Linked DNA regions of Homo sapiens: region 2 is linked to region 1. The links are contacts of gene promoters, found by promoter capture Hi-C in human tissues and cell types (Jung and others, 2019). All regions are on one chromosome and are shown on one strand. The core of a region is centred on a gene start or on the middle of the fragment in contact, and the rest is flanking DNA. Distances in the headings are between cores, read along the strand shown.

The links. Contacts are between HindIII fragments. The study calls those that stand out against the background at their distance.
Region 2: a contact is called between a fragment that was not itself captured here and the fragment with the promoter of ARID3C in region 1, in 3 of the 25 tissues and cell types used here (IMR-90 fibroblasts, hippocampus and spleen).

The regions. Positions count from the first base shown.
Region 1 is chr9:34,625,583-34,632,256 of GRCh38, reverse strand. It overlaps ARID3C (AT-rich interaction domain 3C), which reads left to right and starts at 3,191. Exons shown (of 8, transcript NM_001017363.4): 1 at 3,191-3,340; 2 at 4,171-4,560; 3 at 6,443-6,515. The coding sequence starts at 4,243. RefSeq lists silencers at 3,073-3,232, 3,283-3,382. The HindIII fragment of the contact is 10,650 bases long and covers 1-6,151 here.
Region 2 is chr9:34,494,441-34,500,911 of GRCh38, reverse strand. It overlaps DNAI1 (dynein axonemal intermediate chain 1), which reads right to left. Exons shown (of 20, transcript NM_012144.4): 10 at 3,713-3,797; 11 at 73-190. Among named protein-coding and RNA genes, the nearest start is that of ENHO, 25 kb to the left of the region's middle. The HindIII fragment of the contact is 6,320 bases long and covers 1-4,410 here.

The DNA.
Region 1 (6,674 bases), core at 1,942-4,441:
AGGTATCCACGTAGTCATAGCTCTCTTCCTCCCCTCCTTCAATTCCTGCTCACTGAGTTCTTCAACACTTATATAATAGTATCTCTTGCATGGTGATTTGAAATACCTTCACAAAATTTTTGATGCTCTGTCCTTCAAGAGGTGAAGCCTAAATTCCTTCCCCTTGAGTGGACTAGACTTAATTATGTACTTTCACAAATAATGTGGCATAAATAACAGTGTGTGACTTCTAGGACTAGGCCATAAAAAGCATTGCTGTCTAAAGAGTCTCTCTTGGATCATTCTGGGGGAAACCAACTGCCATGTTGAGAGGACATACAAGCAATCCTATGGAGAGGCCCATATTGCGGGGGGAACAGGCCCCCTGCCAAGGGCCATGCAAGTGAGCCATTTTGGAAGTAGATCCTCCAGTTCCAGTCAAGCCTTCAGATGACTGCATCCCTGGCCAACCTTTTTACTACAACACCTTAGAGGACAATGAGTCAGAACCATCCAGACCCACAGAATTGTGAGAAAATAAATGTTTTTGTTTTAAGCTGCTAAATTATGGGGTGATTTGTTACACAGCAATAGGTAACTAATGCCCCCTTTTATGTTCCCCCCAACCCAGCTACATTTTTCTCCATGGTACTTACCACTATCTGACACACTGTATATTTCCCCCACTTAGAATTGTACCATTATAATAAGGACTTTGTCTTATTTGCTCCTGTGTCCAACAGTGCCTGGCAAAAAAAATAGATAATAAATATGTGTTGGATGAATGAAGCATGGGTCTCTGAAGGTCTAGGTCTGTCTCCGTCTCTGTGAGGTATAAGACCAGACTGCGGGTATGAGAGGCAGCCTTTCCTTTTCACAGATGAAGAGAGATAAACCAAGTCCCAGTCAAGCATATTCCTTCCCCTCAGCCCTTCCCAGTTGTAGCCCTCCTGGCCCAGACCCCAAAAGTGGATTAACTTTGCTTGATTGATTTGGGAGCTGGGGGAGTGACTGCCCAGCCCCTTACCATTCAACCCAAACCCTACAAAGCGATCTCCAAACACTCAGAACTGGAATTTCCCCAAGCCAATTCCTACCTTTCTAGGAAGACTCTGGCCACCTACCTTTGTCCATGGACCTCCTCTGAGCAGCCAGGGGAAGCTGTGGTGGGGAAAAGGGAGCAAGCAGGGCACAAGGGTTCTGTGGATTGCTACCCTCTGCTCTCCAGTCTTCCAGTAGACTTCCAGGGCATGTCTGTCTGCCTGGCACATTCACTGATTCTCCCCTCCCAGCATCAGGGAGGGTTGGGCAGAGGAGGAGGCTTGGCTCTGCCCCAGGATACTCACACCAAACAAAGCCATGGGGGAGGAGGCATCAGTACCGACAGTGATTGGATCACTGGAGCTTCTGGAGGCTGGGGGGTTCTGATGGGCTCAGAGGTCTGAAATCTGAGGTGGAGGACACTGGGGCAGCCAAAGGAATGAATGGGGTGAGCCTCAGCGTGGCCAGGAATGGGCCATAGAGAACCAGGACTTAGTGCTGCAGTAGAAGCTGGGCACAGAAGGGTGCAGAGAAGGGTGGCGGCTGGAGGCAGGGAGAGCAGGGAGGAGGCACCCACCATGGTCAGACCCACCATGGTCAGAAGAGCCGGTGGTTTGAGCCAGAGCAAGCTGAGGCTGAGAGGAGTGGACTGATTGGGAGAGGACAAGGGAGGAGGGAGGAGACAAAGGTCGTGTTTGGATTCCTGCCTTCTGGGGGTGTGAGGTCAGAAGACAGTCTCTGGTGCCACAGTTTCATACCTATGCCAAGTGTCACCCCTACAGACACCTGCTGTTCACTTACACACTTGGCATCACCTCACAGTGTCCCTCTGTTTGGTAAGTGGTCCCCTTGGGCACAGGAAGAAATAGGAAGTATGAGGATTCCCGGGAGGAGTGGGGTCCAGGCTGTTCAGAGCAGAAATTCTGAGAGGCCTGCCACTCAGAACCCCCAAATAAGGAACAGCATTTCAGCGTCTTGGGAATAGTTAGGGGGAGGGCGCAAAGCAGTGGGCTGAGGGGGTCTGGAGATACAGATGTGGCAGTCAGGCACACATAGGTGGAGAATGTGTGTGAACATGGGCGAAGTGCCGGTCACTGTTGAAACAAACCTATGATGAGTACCAGAGGTTCATTATACTATTCACTTGTCTATGTTTCAAAATTTTCATAATACAGGCTGGGTACGGTAGCTCATGCCTGTAATCCCAGCACTGTGGGTGGCCAGGGTGGGTGGATCACTTGAGGTCAGGAGTTCGAGACCAGCCTAGCCAAAATGGTGAAACCCCATCTCTACTAAAAAGACAAAAATTAGCCGGGTCTGGTGGTGGACGCCTGTAATCCCAGCTAATTCCAGCTATTCGGGAGGCTGAGGCAGTAGAATCACTTGAACCTGGGAGGCGGAGGCTGCAGTGAGCCCAGATCGCGCCACTGCACTCCAGCCTGGGTGACAGAGACTCTGTCTCCAAAAAAGAAAAAAAAGAAAAGAAAGAAAAAGAAAAGAAAAGAAAATTTCCATAATAGAATGTCAAAAGAGACAAAAACTGTGTGTGGCTGTGTATCTGCATGCGGTGAGTGTGCAGTCAGCTTAAAGACCTCTGAGAGTGTGTGAGTGCATAGGTGTGGGTCCACCACCATGTGCACTCATGTGTGCAAACCGCAGCATGCCCGCAGTGGGGGACAGCACGTAGGCAGGGCAGGGGTGCTCAAGGCAAAGGGAGAAGCTTCTATTCTGACCAGACCCTCCACGCACACCCCAGCATCTTGCAGAGGGATTCCCCTCTTGATCACAGCGTGCCCAGGCCATTGGCACTGTGGTGACCATGTCACGGAACGTGTGAGACTGGGAAGCTATGCGCCTGAACTTGTGACAAGGTGTGTTGGTGTGTGGATGCGGCTATTTGTATGTGGAAGCCCAGTGCCGAGTGTGGGTGTCGGGGGCACGACTTGTGAGGCTGGGCGGGGCTCTGGTCCGGAGTCCGGTGGCGGTAGAGCCCTCATTTTCGCACGATTCCCCCGCAGCTTTCCAGCGCCCCCTGCCCCCGAAGCTGGCTGGAAAGAAGGTGGGAGACACCTGTTGGGGAGCTGAGAGCGGCAGATCCCACAGGGGCCTCTCCCCATGCGCCCCGCCCGCCCTGCCCCGCTCGGGTCCCGCCCCCGCGGCCGCCGCAAGCAGCGCGGCGAGTGAGCGCACAGCCGCCAGAGGAGCACAGGGCGGCGGGAGCGCACCGCCGGGACCCAGCCGAGGCCAGGGCCGCCTGGGAGGCGGGCGGAGCAAAGGCAGCGCCGTGGAGACGCCAGGGGCAGCGGGCCACGCCAGGCAGGTGAGTGCGGCCGCGGGGCGCCCGGAGCGAGGGAGCCGGGCGTCGCGACTCTGCCGCCTCCTGCCCGTCCGGTCCCGTGCCCGTCCCAGGCTCTGCCCCACCGCCCTCCATCCCCGCGACTCCTTGGTCCCTGTCCTCTGCCCCTCTCTCCGGCTGTTTTTCCCGTCCCTGTCTCTGTCGGTCCCTCTCTATTTAACTGTCTCTTTCTAATCTCTCTCTTCTGTCCGTTTCCTGCTGTCTTGGTCTTTCCCTATATCTCAACCCCTGTCTATTTGTCTATCTCCGCCTCTGTCTCTCCGTCTCTGTCCGTCTCTGAGCTACCTGTCACTTAGGTCTTTTATCTGTTGCTCCTCTACCTCTCTTACCCTCCCTGTCTCTCTACCCAATATTCTATCTCTCTCCATCTCTGTCTGTCTACCCTGTCTCTGCCTGATACCTCTGCCTCTCTCCATCTTGGTCCCTCTCAGTCTCTGTGTCACCCCACTTCTGTCTCTCCTTGTCACCCTGTTCCATCTCTATTTTCACATCTCCCTGTCATTGTCTCTGTCGGACATCCCCCTTCTCCTTTTCTTTCTCTCTCCCTTCCTTCACCATTTCCCGATGTCTCTTGGTCCCCGTCACCCTCTCTGATCTGCTCACTCTTCCAGTCCTCAGTCAATGGCCATTTGATTCCCCGGGTCTGGTCCTGTTTCTGTTCACCTCTGGGAAAGCCATCTTTCTGCCTCTTTCCTTGTGACCCCTGCACTTCCCTGAATCCATGACCACCTCCCCCTGTGTTGGGGGGCTCTGGGGGCAGTAGGGCCCAGCACCCATAATTCCCTCCCCCACAGGCGGCCCTTTCCTCGGGGTCCCGCCTGGTACCAGGGACCCCCTCAGCTGGGGGACTGCGCCTGGAAGCTGTCATGGAGGCCCTGCAGAAGCAGCAGGCAGCTCGGCTGGCCCAGGGGGTGGGGCCATTGGCCCCTGCATGCCCGCTGCTGCCACCGCAGCCTCCCCTGCCTGACCACCGGACCCTACAGGCCCCTGAGGGGGCCTTGGGGAATGTTGGGGCTGAGGAAGAGGAAGATGCTGAAGAAGATGAGGAGAAGCGGGAGGAAGCCGGGGCAGAGGAGGAGGCAGCTGAGGAGAGCCGTCCAGGGGCCCAGGGCCCCAGCTCGCCTTCTAGCCAGCCCCCTGGACTCCATCCCCACGAGTGGACCTACGAGGAACAATTCAAGCAGGTAGGACCTATGCCCTCAATGTCCGGCCCTCTTCCCTATCTCTCTCTTCTGGCAAAAGCACAGCCAGGTGATTAGCAGCCCACCCACCCCCACCACCCTCTGCAAGATGAAAAGAGACACAGAGACACGGAGACCTATAGAAAGACAGAGAGAAGATTGGAGGATAGTGACAGGGAGGGAAAGACAGATGCCTGGCTAATTTTTTAAAATTTCTTTTGTAAAGACAAGGTTTTCTTGTATTGCCCAGGCCGGTCTCGAACTCTTGACTTCAGGTAATCCTCCCACCTCAGCTTCCCAAAGTGCTGAGATTACAGGGATGAGCCACCATGCCCAGCCAGGTGTAGGGAAGGCAGTCTAGGGGCTGGGGATTCCAATGCCAGCACCACCCTGCCTACCTTCTCACACATCAAGTCACAAGGTCATATTCCAGTGACCAGTGGGGGTGACCCAGTTGCTTCCTCTGTCTTTGGAAGCAGAATGGAGGTTATCACTCACTTGGCAGGCTGATACACCTTTCCTTTCTTTCCTGTCACCTCCTCCCTAACCCTGGCCCCATGCAAATCTCCCTGGCCTGAGTTCCACGGATGATAGTTCCCAGCCTGGGATGGCCACTACAGCCGCAGTATGACTAAAGGGCTCCTCCGCAACTCAGAATGACAAGACTTCATTCACAGGGCCTTAATCTGAGGTTCTTTCTCCCTGGAGAACCCTTCTGGGTGTTATTCTAAGGACACTACTCAAGGCTGTCACTATGAAGGTGTTACACAGGGCTGTGTCTCCAGGTGTGCTATTCTGGTACTTGTAGGGTGTTGGTCTGGGTATATTCCAAAAGTGTTGATCTGTGACTAGTACTCTGGCATTAGTATAAAACTGAGTGTTACTCAGGGCTCTGTTCTGGATATGTGGTCTAGAGACTGTTTCTCCTAGGTATAATTCTAGGGGTTATTACTTGGATCTAAGTAATAACATCTTAGACTTAGGGCTCAATTTTTGTGGGAATGTGGCTCTAAAGGTGGATCTGGGGTTTATTACTCATGGATATTTTGTTTGTTTTATACTCTGAGGATTCTTATGGGGATGGAGTGATGGAATATTATCTATAGGTGTTACTCAAGGACTGTTACTCTGGGTCAGTGACTCAAGGGGTGGTTCTCTTGACTAGTATTCGGGAGTTGATGCAGGAGGTGGGACTCCAGATTACCAGGAAGAGTTGAGATGGCCTGTGGATCCTTTAAACTCTGACCCCACAGGTCCTAGGTGGTACAGGGCCAGTGCCTCTATAGCAGCGTCTGTAGGCAGGTTAACTGCCTCTGAAAGGAAATCAGACCAGAAGATGAGCTGAAGGGCCCTGGGTGTCAACCCAGGAGCTTCTGAGCATCACCCTGCCTGAGGGGTGGGTTAGGAGCATCTCTGCCCTTCAGTCACCCCCAGCCCTGGCATACAGGGATGTGAACACCATGAAGTCCTTGCATGAATGAATCAGAGCATCAGATATATGTTTGTCTCCTCAGTCTGGTATACAACCCCAGCCTAGCTTCCTTCCTGGGGCTCTAAATTTCCCATGAGGGTGGGGGAAGACTGAGCCCCAGAGGGCAGGCTGAGCCTCCAAGCTCCATCCTGTTCCTCTCTTCCCTTACTCCCCAGATGGGTGGTTTGAATGGCCCAGGGTACCACTACCAGTACCAGTCTCTGTATGTACTAGAAAAAGGCACCCCTGCCTGCCCCTAGGCGGAGAGAGCCTAATGCTAATCCCAGGGAGTCCACATTGAGATCCTACTGACTCCTTCAGCTAGGGACCCTTGTTCAGGGTACAACCTGAATTGGGGTCAAGGGAGGGAGGGGGAGTCAGCAGAGCTGTAGAATGACCCCAATCCTTCCCCAGCTGTATGAGCTCGATGCAGACCCCAAGAGGAAGGAATTTCTGGATGACCTGTTTAGCTTCATGCAAAAGAGGGGTGAGTGGCATGATGTGGGGGAAGGGCCCTGGAATTGCCCCCTTACCAGGTTTGAGGAAACCCGGTTGGGTTCTCCCTGCTGAGGCCTGAGCTTGGCAGCACCTGTCCTTTGGGCCCTCGATAGCGTCTTTAACCTCTGACCCTGTCCCCCTCCTCCAC
Region 2 (6,471 bases), core at 1-2,500, 130 kb after region 1:
AAGGGGGTACTGGGGGTTTGGGATGTAGAGGGCACTCAGGGGCTCTGCATTTGCTGCAATGCCTATACTTACCAGCAGAGGGCAGTGACGGACAGGCGCTTGGCTTTGTCATTTTGGAACTTCCAGAGCGGCAGCAGGGTACCCACCTGGTCCCGGTATTCATCAGCAGCATCGTCATAGTACTTAAAATCTTAAACACACACAGGCAGAGTCAGCCCTGGGACTGCCGCTTTATGGCAAACCCAGGTCCACCACTTACTGTCTGTACCTCCTTGGGCAAAACAATGAGCCTCTGTTTTAGAGTGGGAATAATACTACTACCTATCTCAGAGTTCTGTTGTGAGGATATATGAATTGAGTTAATATATGCAAAGAGCTTAGAAAAATGCCTGGCACATAGTAAGCTCTATGTGTTAGCCATTGTTACTGTCGTTGTTGTTGGAGGTACATTACAATACACCGGCCATGTCTACATGGATAAAATCCCAGGTTCGCAGCCCTTGTTCCCATGTGTTTCCCTAGCATTTCAGGAGGCTCTGTTTGGAGGAGCCAAATTTCAAGGGTTCAGCTGCCAAGGGCTGATTAATAGTTCCATTAATTCTGCCTCCTAAATCCCTAAAATGCAGCCCATTTTCATATCCACAGCCAAGTCTCCCTATAATGAAGCTGCCTAGATCCCCCATGGGTTCTCTGAACCCAACTTCATCTCCTGCCCACAAAATTGTCTCTGCCTTCCACTTTCTTTAAGTTAGATAGATGCCCCATCCTCCCACTTGTCTAAACCAGAAATGAGTAATCCTTGACTGATCTGTTTCCATAATTTCTCATATTTTTCTTCTATCTTTTTAATTCATTCGCTTCTCTCCAAACCCATAGCCCCTGCCCAGGTTCAGGCCCCAACATCCATCACCTGTATTATGACAACATCCCTCTAACTGGTCTCCTACCTCCAGTAACTCCTTCTCCAACCCTTGTTTCACAGAACAACCAGTGTGAGTACAAACAAGGCACCTCACGACACCCCTTTCCTCACTCCACTGAAACCCCCTCAATGGCTCTCCTTGCAGAGGAGATTAAACCAAGAGGAGATCCACGTTATTTCTAGTCAGCTGTCCGTGTCCCCTCCATATCAAATCATGCCAATGAGTCCAGTTGTCTCCTGTTTTGGGTGTTTCTACATCGTTTTCCATGTCTAAGATGCCCTGTTCTTCCTGGCAAACTCCTACTCACTCCAGATCCAGATCAAACTCTTTCTCATCTGTAAGGCCTTCATTTTCTTTTGAGCAGAGTTAATTTCTTCCTCTGTTCCAGCCCTGCCTCTCCTCTACTGAAACATCTGTCACACTAGATTGCCTCTATCCTTTTGCCTGTTCTCCCCCACCAGACAATATCTGGAGAGCAGGACACACATATATTCTCTGGGTCCCCAGTGCCTAGCACAGGGCCAGCCACAAAACAGACAACCAACAACTGTTTAAAGAATGCAGTGAAATTCATTAACAGAAGTGAAGTAGTTCTTGATCTTCTTTAGACAAAGGGTGACCAATTAGAAAATGAATCCTGTCATTCAGTGAAGCCAAGAACATGCCCAGGCCTGACATCTCCTATAGTGCCCATACCTTGAGGTTGTGGGACTTCACTCAAACCTCAAAAATGTCTCAGAACAAAAAAGATTCAAGTGGTCAGAGAGGCGTGAGCCTTGATTACATCAGAGATTACCCCGCTTGGGTTATCTTTGAAAATACTTCAATTCAGAGCAGAGATTAATTGGTAACACTTCTCTATTTTCATGTCTCCTTCATGATTACACTTTCCCAAAGGGAAAGGAGTATGCAATTAAAAAAATCAAAGTTCAATACATTTTTATGTGACTGTGTTCTTATAAATGAAAGTGGTTCACCAAGGCCAATTTCTCCATGGATATTAATCAGGTTTGCAGCCCTTTGGTGGGCCACTTGCAGAGGCTGGGTTTCAAGAAGCCACGCTGTGTGAGTGACAAACTCATTCACAGCTGTTGTGTACTTTGACAGCTTTGAAAAGCACTCAAGGTCGTTTTCCAGCCTGAATGATAATGAGGGGGCTTGTTTAGGTGGCTGGTTTTGGCAGCCCTGGTTTCTGTGTCCCATGGGTGAGCAATGAGCATCAAGTCACCAAGAAGAGCCCTAGGCTGTCAGCAAAGGAGACCAGCCAGCATCGAGGAGCTGCCAACTCTGGGAAGGCAGCTGCTCCAAATAAATGCACAACCTCTTAGGGAAATACAAGCCACTTGGGAATGTGCTGTTCATGCCATGGGAAGGATTCTGTTTCCCTGACACTGTCAGACACCAGAATTTCCCAGGCCCCCAGGATTTAAGCATTTCTGAATCAATCTCTTTCTTCAACTCATCACTAATTAATCACCAGGATAGATCTATTGAGTGTGTTTATTTGAAATGTCTCTTCCGGCTCAGTGGCTTTGCAGCCTAGCGGCGAAGTGCTTAGGTGATGGATCCAAGGGGCCTGTGTTCGAGTTCTGATTCTGCCACTCACACTTCACACTAGCTGTGACTTTGAAAAAGTGGCAACATCCCAGCCTGAGTTTCTCATCTATAAAATGGAGATAATAATGGTATTCACCTCACAGTGTGGCTGTCAGGAACAAACAAAATAATAACATGTAAATTGCATAGCACAATGCCTGACACACAGGCTACTCCCAGTGAATGCTGGAGCTTGTTTCTCACTATTATAACTGTTCCCTTTTCTCCATTCCTTAAGACACAGGCTAGGTCAGGTGTGGTAAGGCCCATTCCACCCCACATTTGAGCCTCACCTCCACCTCTGCCCTATATTCTACACAATCACATCCTCCTCCAGCCTTGCTCTCATCGGGCTGTGTCCCTGCCTAGAAAGTTTCAGTTCTCTGAACTGTCTGCAGAGATAGGTCACATTCCTTGCATGATATTCAAGGCCCTTCATTAATGGGCTCCAACAACCTCTTCCGCCTGAACTCTCACCTCTTTTCAATGAAGATCCTGTTTGGGTCAGGGAGCCTGCTGTCCCTTGTCCCCAGAGTCCATTCCTATTCGGTTTCACTGCCAAGACACTGCTCATGCCATCCCTGTCCAGAACATCCTCCCTGTAGCTATCTTCTCTCACACACTCTGCTTCTCCCTTGGCATCTAGCTAAGCCCTCTCCAAAGCCTTCCATAACTACTCCCACTCATCCCTCACTTTCCTTCTCTCCTATGTGAGGATCCCCAGAGTGGTTTCTGTCTACCCCATACATTCTGGCATTTATAGCATTCCCAAGGTGCTCTGAGTAGAGGACAGAGCATAGAATGAGGAAGATCGAGACCTCTATTTGGGTCCTCTCTGCCACTCACTAGTCAGGTGGCCTTAGCCTTAGCTTCCTCATGTGTACAGTATGGGCAAGTCTCTGCTCTGCCTGCCTCCCAGGGTTATCAGGAAGATGAGATTGGATCACCCATGTGCAGGTATTCTTTGCTGCACCACTTCCAGATCTCATCAGTATACACATTGTTTCTTATGCCATCAGTCATGGTTAATCCACATAAGTCTTGTCTCCCCAGTGACATCCAGAGGACAGAGGGATTATTTTTTCTCCGCTTGCACCTATAGGAGCTAGCAAGAGACACCCAAATAACCCAAGCTTTTATGAGAAATTTTTAATACAGGCAATAATAGTGGTTGCCAGAACTTCAACTCTTACCTTGAGCAATGTCATCATATGTATTCTGGTTGACCATCCGCTCCATGATCTTAGCAGCTTGGGACAATTTGATGAGATCATCAGTCTGTGGGGATACAGAAACTTCAGGTCCTCATAAACCAGCACTTAGCAAGGTCATATGTCCTGAGCCATGTCACCCTTGCAATTGATTCAGCAGTAGCTCTCTGGCACTACTCACCCCAGATAGCTCTGTAAAGGTTTCTCTGCATGTCTCAAGGCCCAGCTCATGCCACTACCCTCTTCTAGGAACTCCTACCTCACAAGTGGCACAAAGGGTCTGAGCTGATATACTTGGCCCCTGGGTAGAACCTGCTTCATGCTTTCATTCTGGACTTGTTTTGGAGAAGGCCTATCTCTGAGCACAAGACAGGGCATTGAAGAGAGCCCAGGAAGGGTCTGCAGGGGAGAGCAGACAAGGGCAGGTTGGAGCCTTCTTTGGTGGAGACAGAAAAGTTTTACCAGCTCAGAGAGTGAAAGACTCCCATTAAAGGCCTCAAAGATCATGTGGTTTTATCCCTTACTCAGTTACAGGCTGAGGAAGGCACCAAGGCCCAAAGAGGGGAGAGACATGCTTACATACATGGAGTACAAGGCAGAACTGAGACTCCTAATTCCAGGCCCTCCCCACAGCCCAGACCAATGAGAAAGCAGGAAGCTTAACTTCAGGAAAACGTGACTCATCTTGAACCAAAAGGAAGCTTGCCATTGTGTGAAATTCCATAAATCCCCAAGATGAGGTGCTTGGCAGGTTGACAGAAGAGCAAAGAGTTTGGGACTAACAGGAAAGGCCCAGAGGGCTTAGGGCAGGTGGCAGGAGTGAGCCAGCTGAATGGGCAGCCCTCCAGGGTAGGGTCAGGGGGCCAGGCCCATGGCTCCCAAGGATTCGATGTCTCAGAAACAGCAGCGTCAGGTAGCGGTTAAAAGGATGGGTTCTAGAGCCGCACAGACCTGCACTCCTATCCCATCCCACCAAAATTAGAACCCGGTGGCAACCTCTGGCAAGTTATTTAGCTTCTCTGAGTCTTAGACTCCTCCTGGTAAGTGGGGGCGGATGGTGGCATCTGCCTCATCAGGTCATTGTGATGGTGAAATGTGATAATACATGTTAGTGTCTAACCCAGTTCCCGGTGGTGATGGTGTCAGAGGAAACATGCAGAGTAGTGCAGCGAAGGGTTATGAAGTCACTTCTGGGGAACTGACCTTTGAGGACCTTTTGCCACGCCTGAAAGAGACTCCAAGTTTATCTTTGAAAACTGACCAAGAAGGGCATTCACTGGAGTCTTGCAGTCACGGACCTCAGAGTTCACCTGGTTCCAGCTACGCTCTCTATTCTCTGACCCAGAGCAGGAATCCTCTCCCCTTAGCAGCTTCCTGGTAAGTGTGACTCTCCCCAGGTCAGGCAGTGTTTTCTGTGGCCAGATAGCCAGTTAACTGAAACTCCCTCCCTGCATCTTCTACCTATGGGCCCAACTCTGTCCTCTGGCCACAAGGAATTGGATGCTTGGTGAGAGCTCCTTTGAGGTAGGAGGACACAGCCACATGCCCTCAAGTCAGCACTTCCTCGGGTGACTCCTCCCAGCTCCATCAGTCATGAAATGGCATATCAATAACAATAGCTACCATTTATTGATCAGTAGCACAAAAGTGTTATGTTAGGGGCTGCACCGTATTATCTTGGGTTCTCATGAAAATCTTGCAAAGTAGGTATCATTAGGGTATCTTTACAGATGAAGAAACTGAGGTTTCAGAAAAACTGAGCTAACAAATGGCAAAGCCAGGATATAAATCCAGGTCTGTAGGTTCCAGGGTCCATGCTCTCAGACCCACACAGTGAGCCAGTGCCTCCCCAGTCTGACCACTCCTCTCCTGGCCCTGGGAGATGCAGGTTTCCAGTTGTGTTCTGAGGAGAGTGTTGTGGGCTGTCACCTCCCTTGTCCCAGATACTATGCTACTGGAGCAGCCACACATCTTTATTAGTTCTCACTGAACTTGCAGCCTGTGAGCCCTTTCCTCCTTTCCTACCTAATTATTCAGATCAGACAAATGTGCATTGATTTCTGTGCATTCACTCAAATCACTAATGAGACAGAGACCTGAGGTCCACCAAGGAGGCCCTTCCTATAGGATATCATGAAGTTTTTATCTTTTCTCCCCTCCAGCACATTTGAGTTTTCTACCCACATAATCAGACCCCATTCTTTGAGGAAGGGGTGTCACTCTGTTCAACCACTGGGCCTGGGCAATGGGGAAGGTGACTGCCTTTCCCACTGTGTTGCACAGACAGCCTGGCCCAGTACTTGGGATTTCTAATTATTGCCTTGGGGAGAGGGTGCACACCAAGGCATTCACTAGGTGGGGCTGGGGGAGGGTGTCCTGCCTCCCATGTGGACTCTTGGTCCAGAGGGCTGGAATCTGCTTGTACCATAGTCTTCCAAGTCAGCTAAGCTGGAAGAGTCCAGTGTGATGGAGAGAGATGGTCCCTCATCCCTGAGGATGTTAGACACCAACTCTGCAAGGCTTAGAAGACACAGGTCAGATTCTAGTCTCAGTCACAGGGACTTTTCTTCTGGTTTCTAGATCCTGGTGATTATAGTTGAGGTTTCTGCAACCATGGGTCCCAGTACAGAGCTTATAACCCCTGATGGATCTTCATGTGAACCCTGACCTAGGCCAGTGGCCCCTGTGAAGCCTCTAACCTCTAGAGAATGGATCAGGGGAAGCCAAGGGTCTGCACAGAG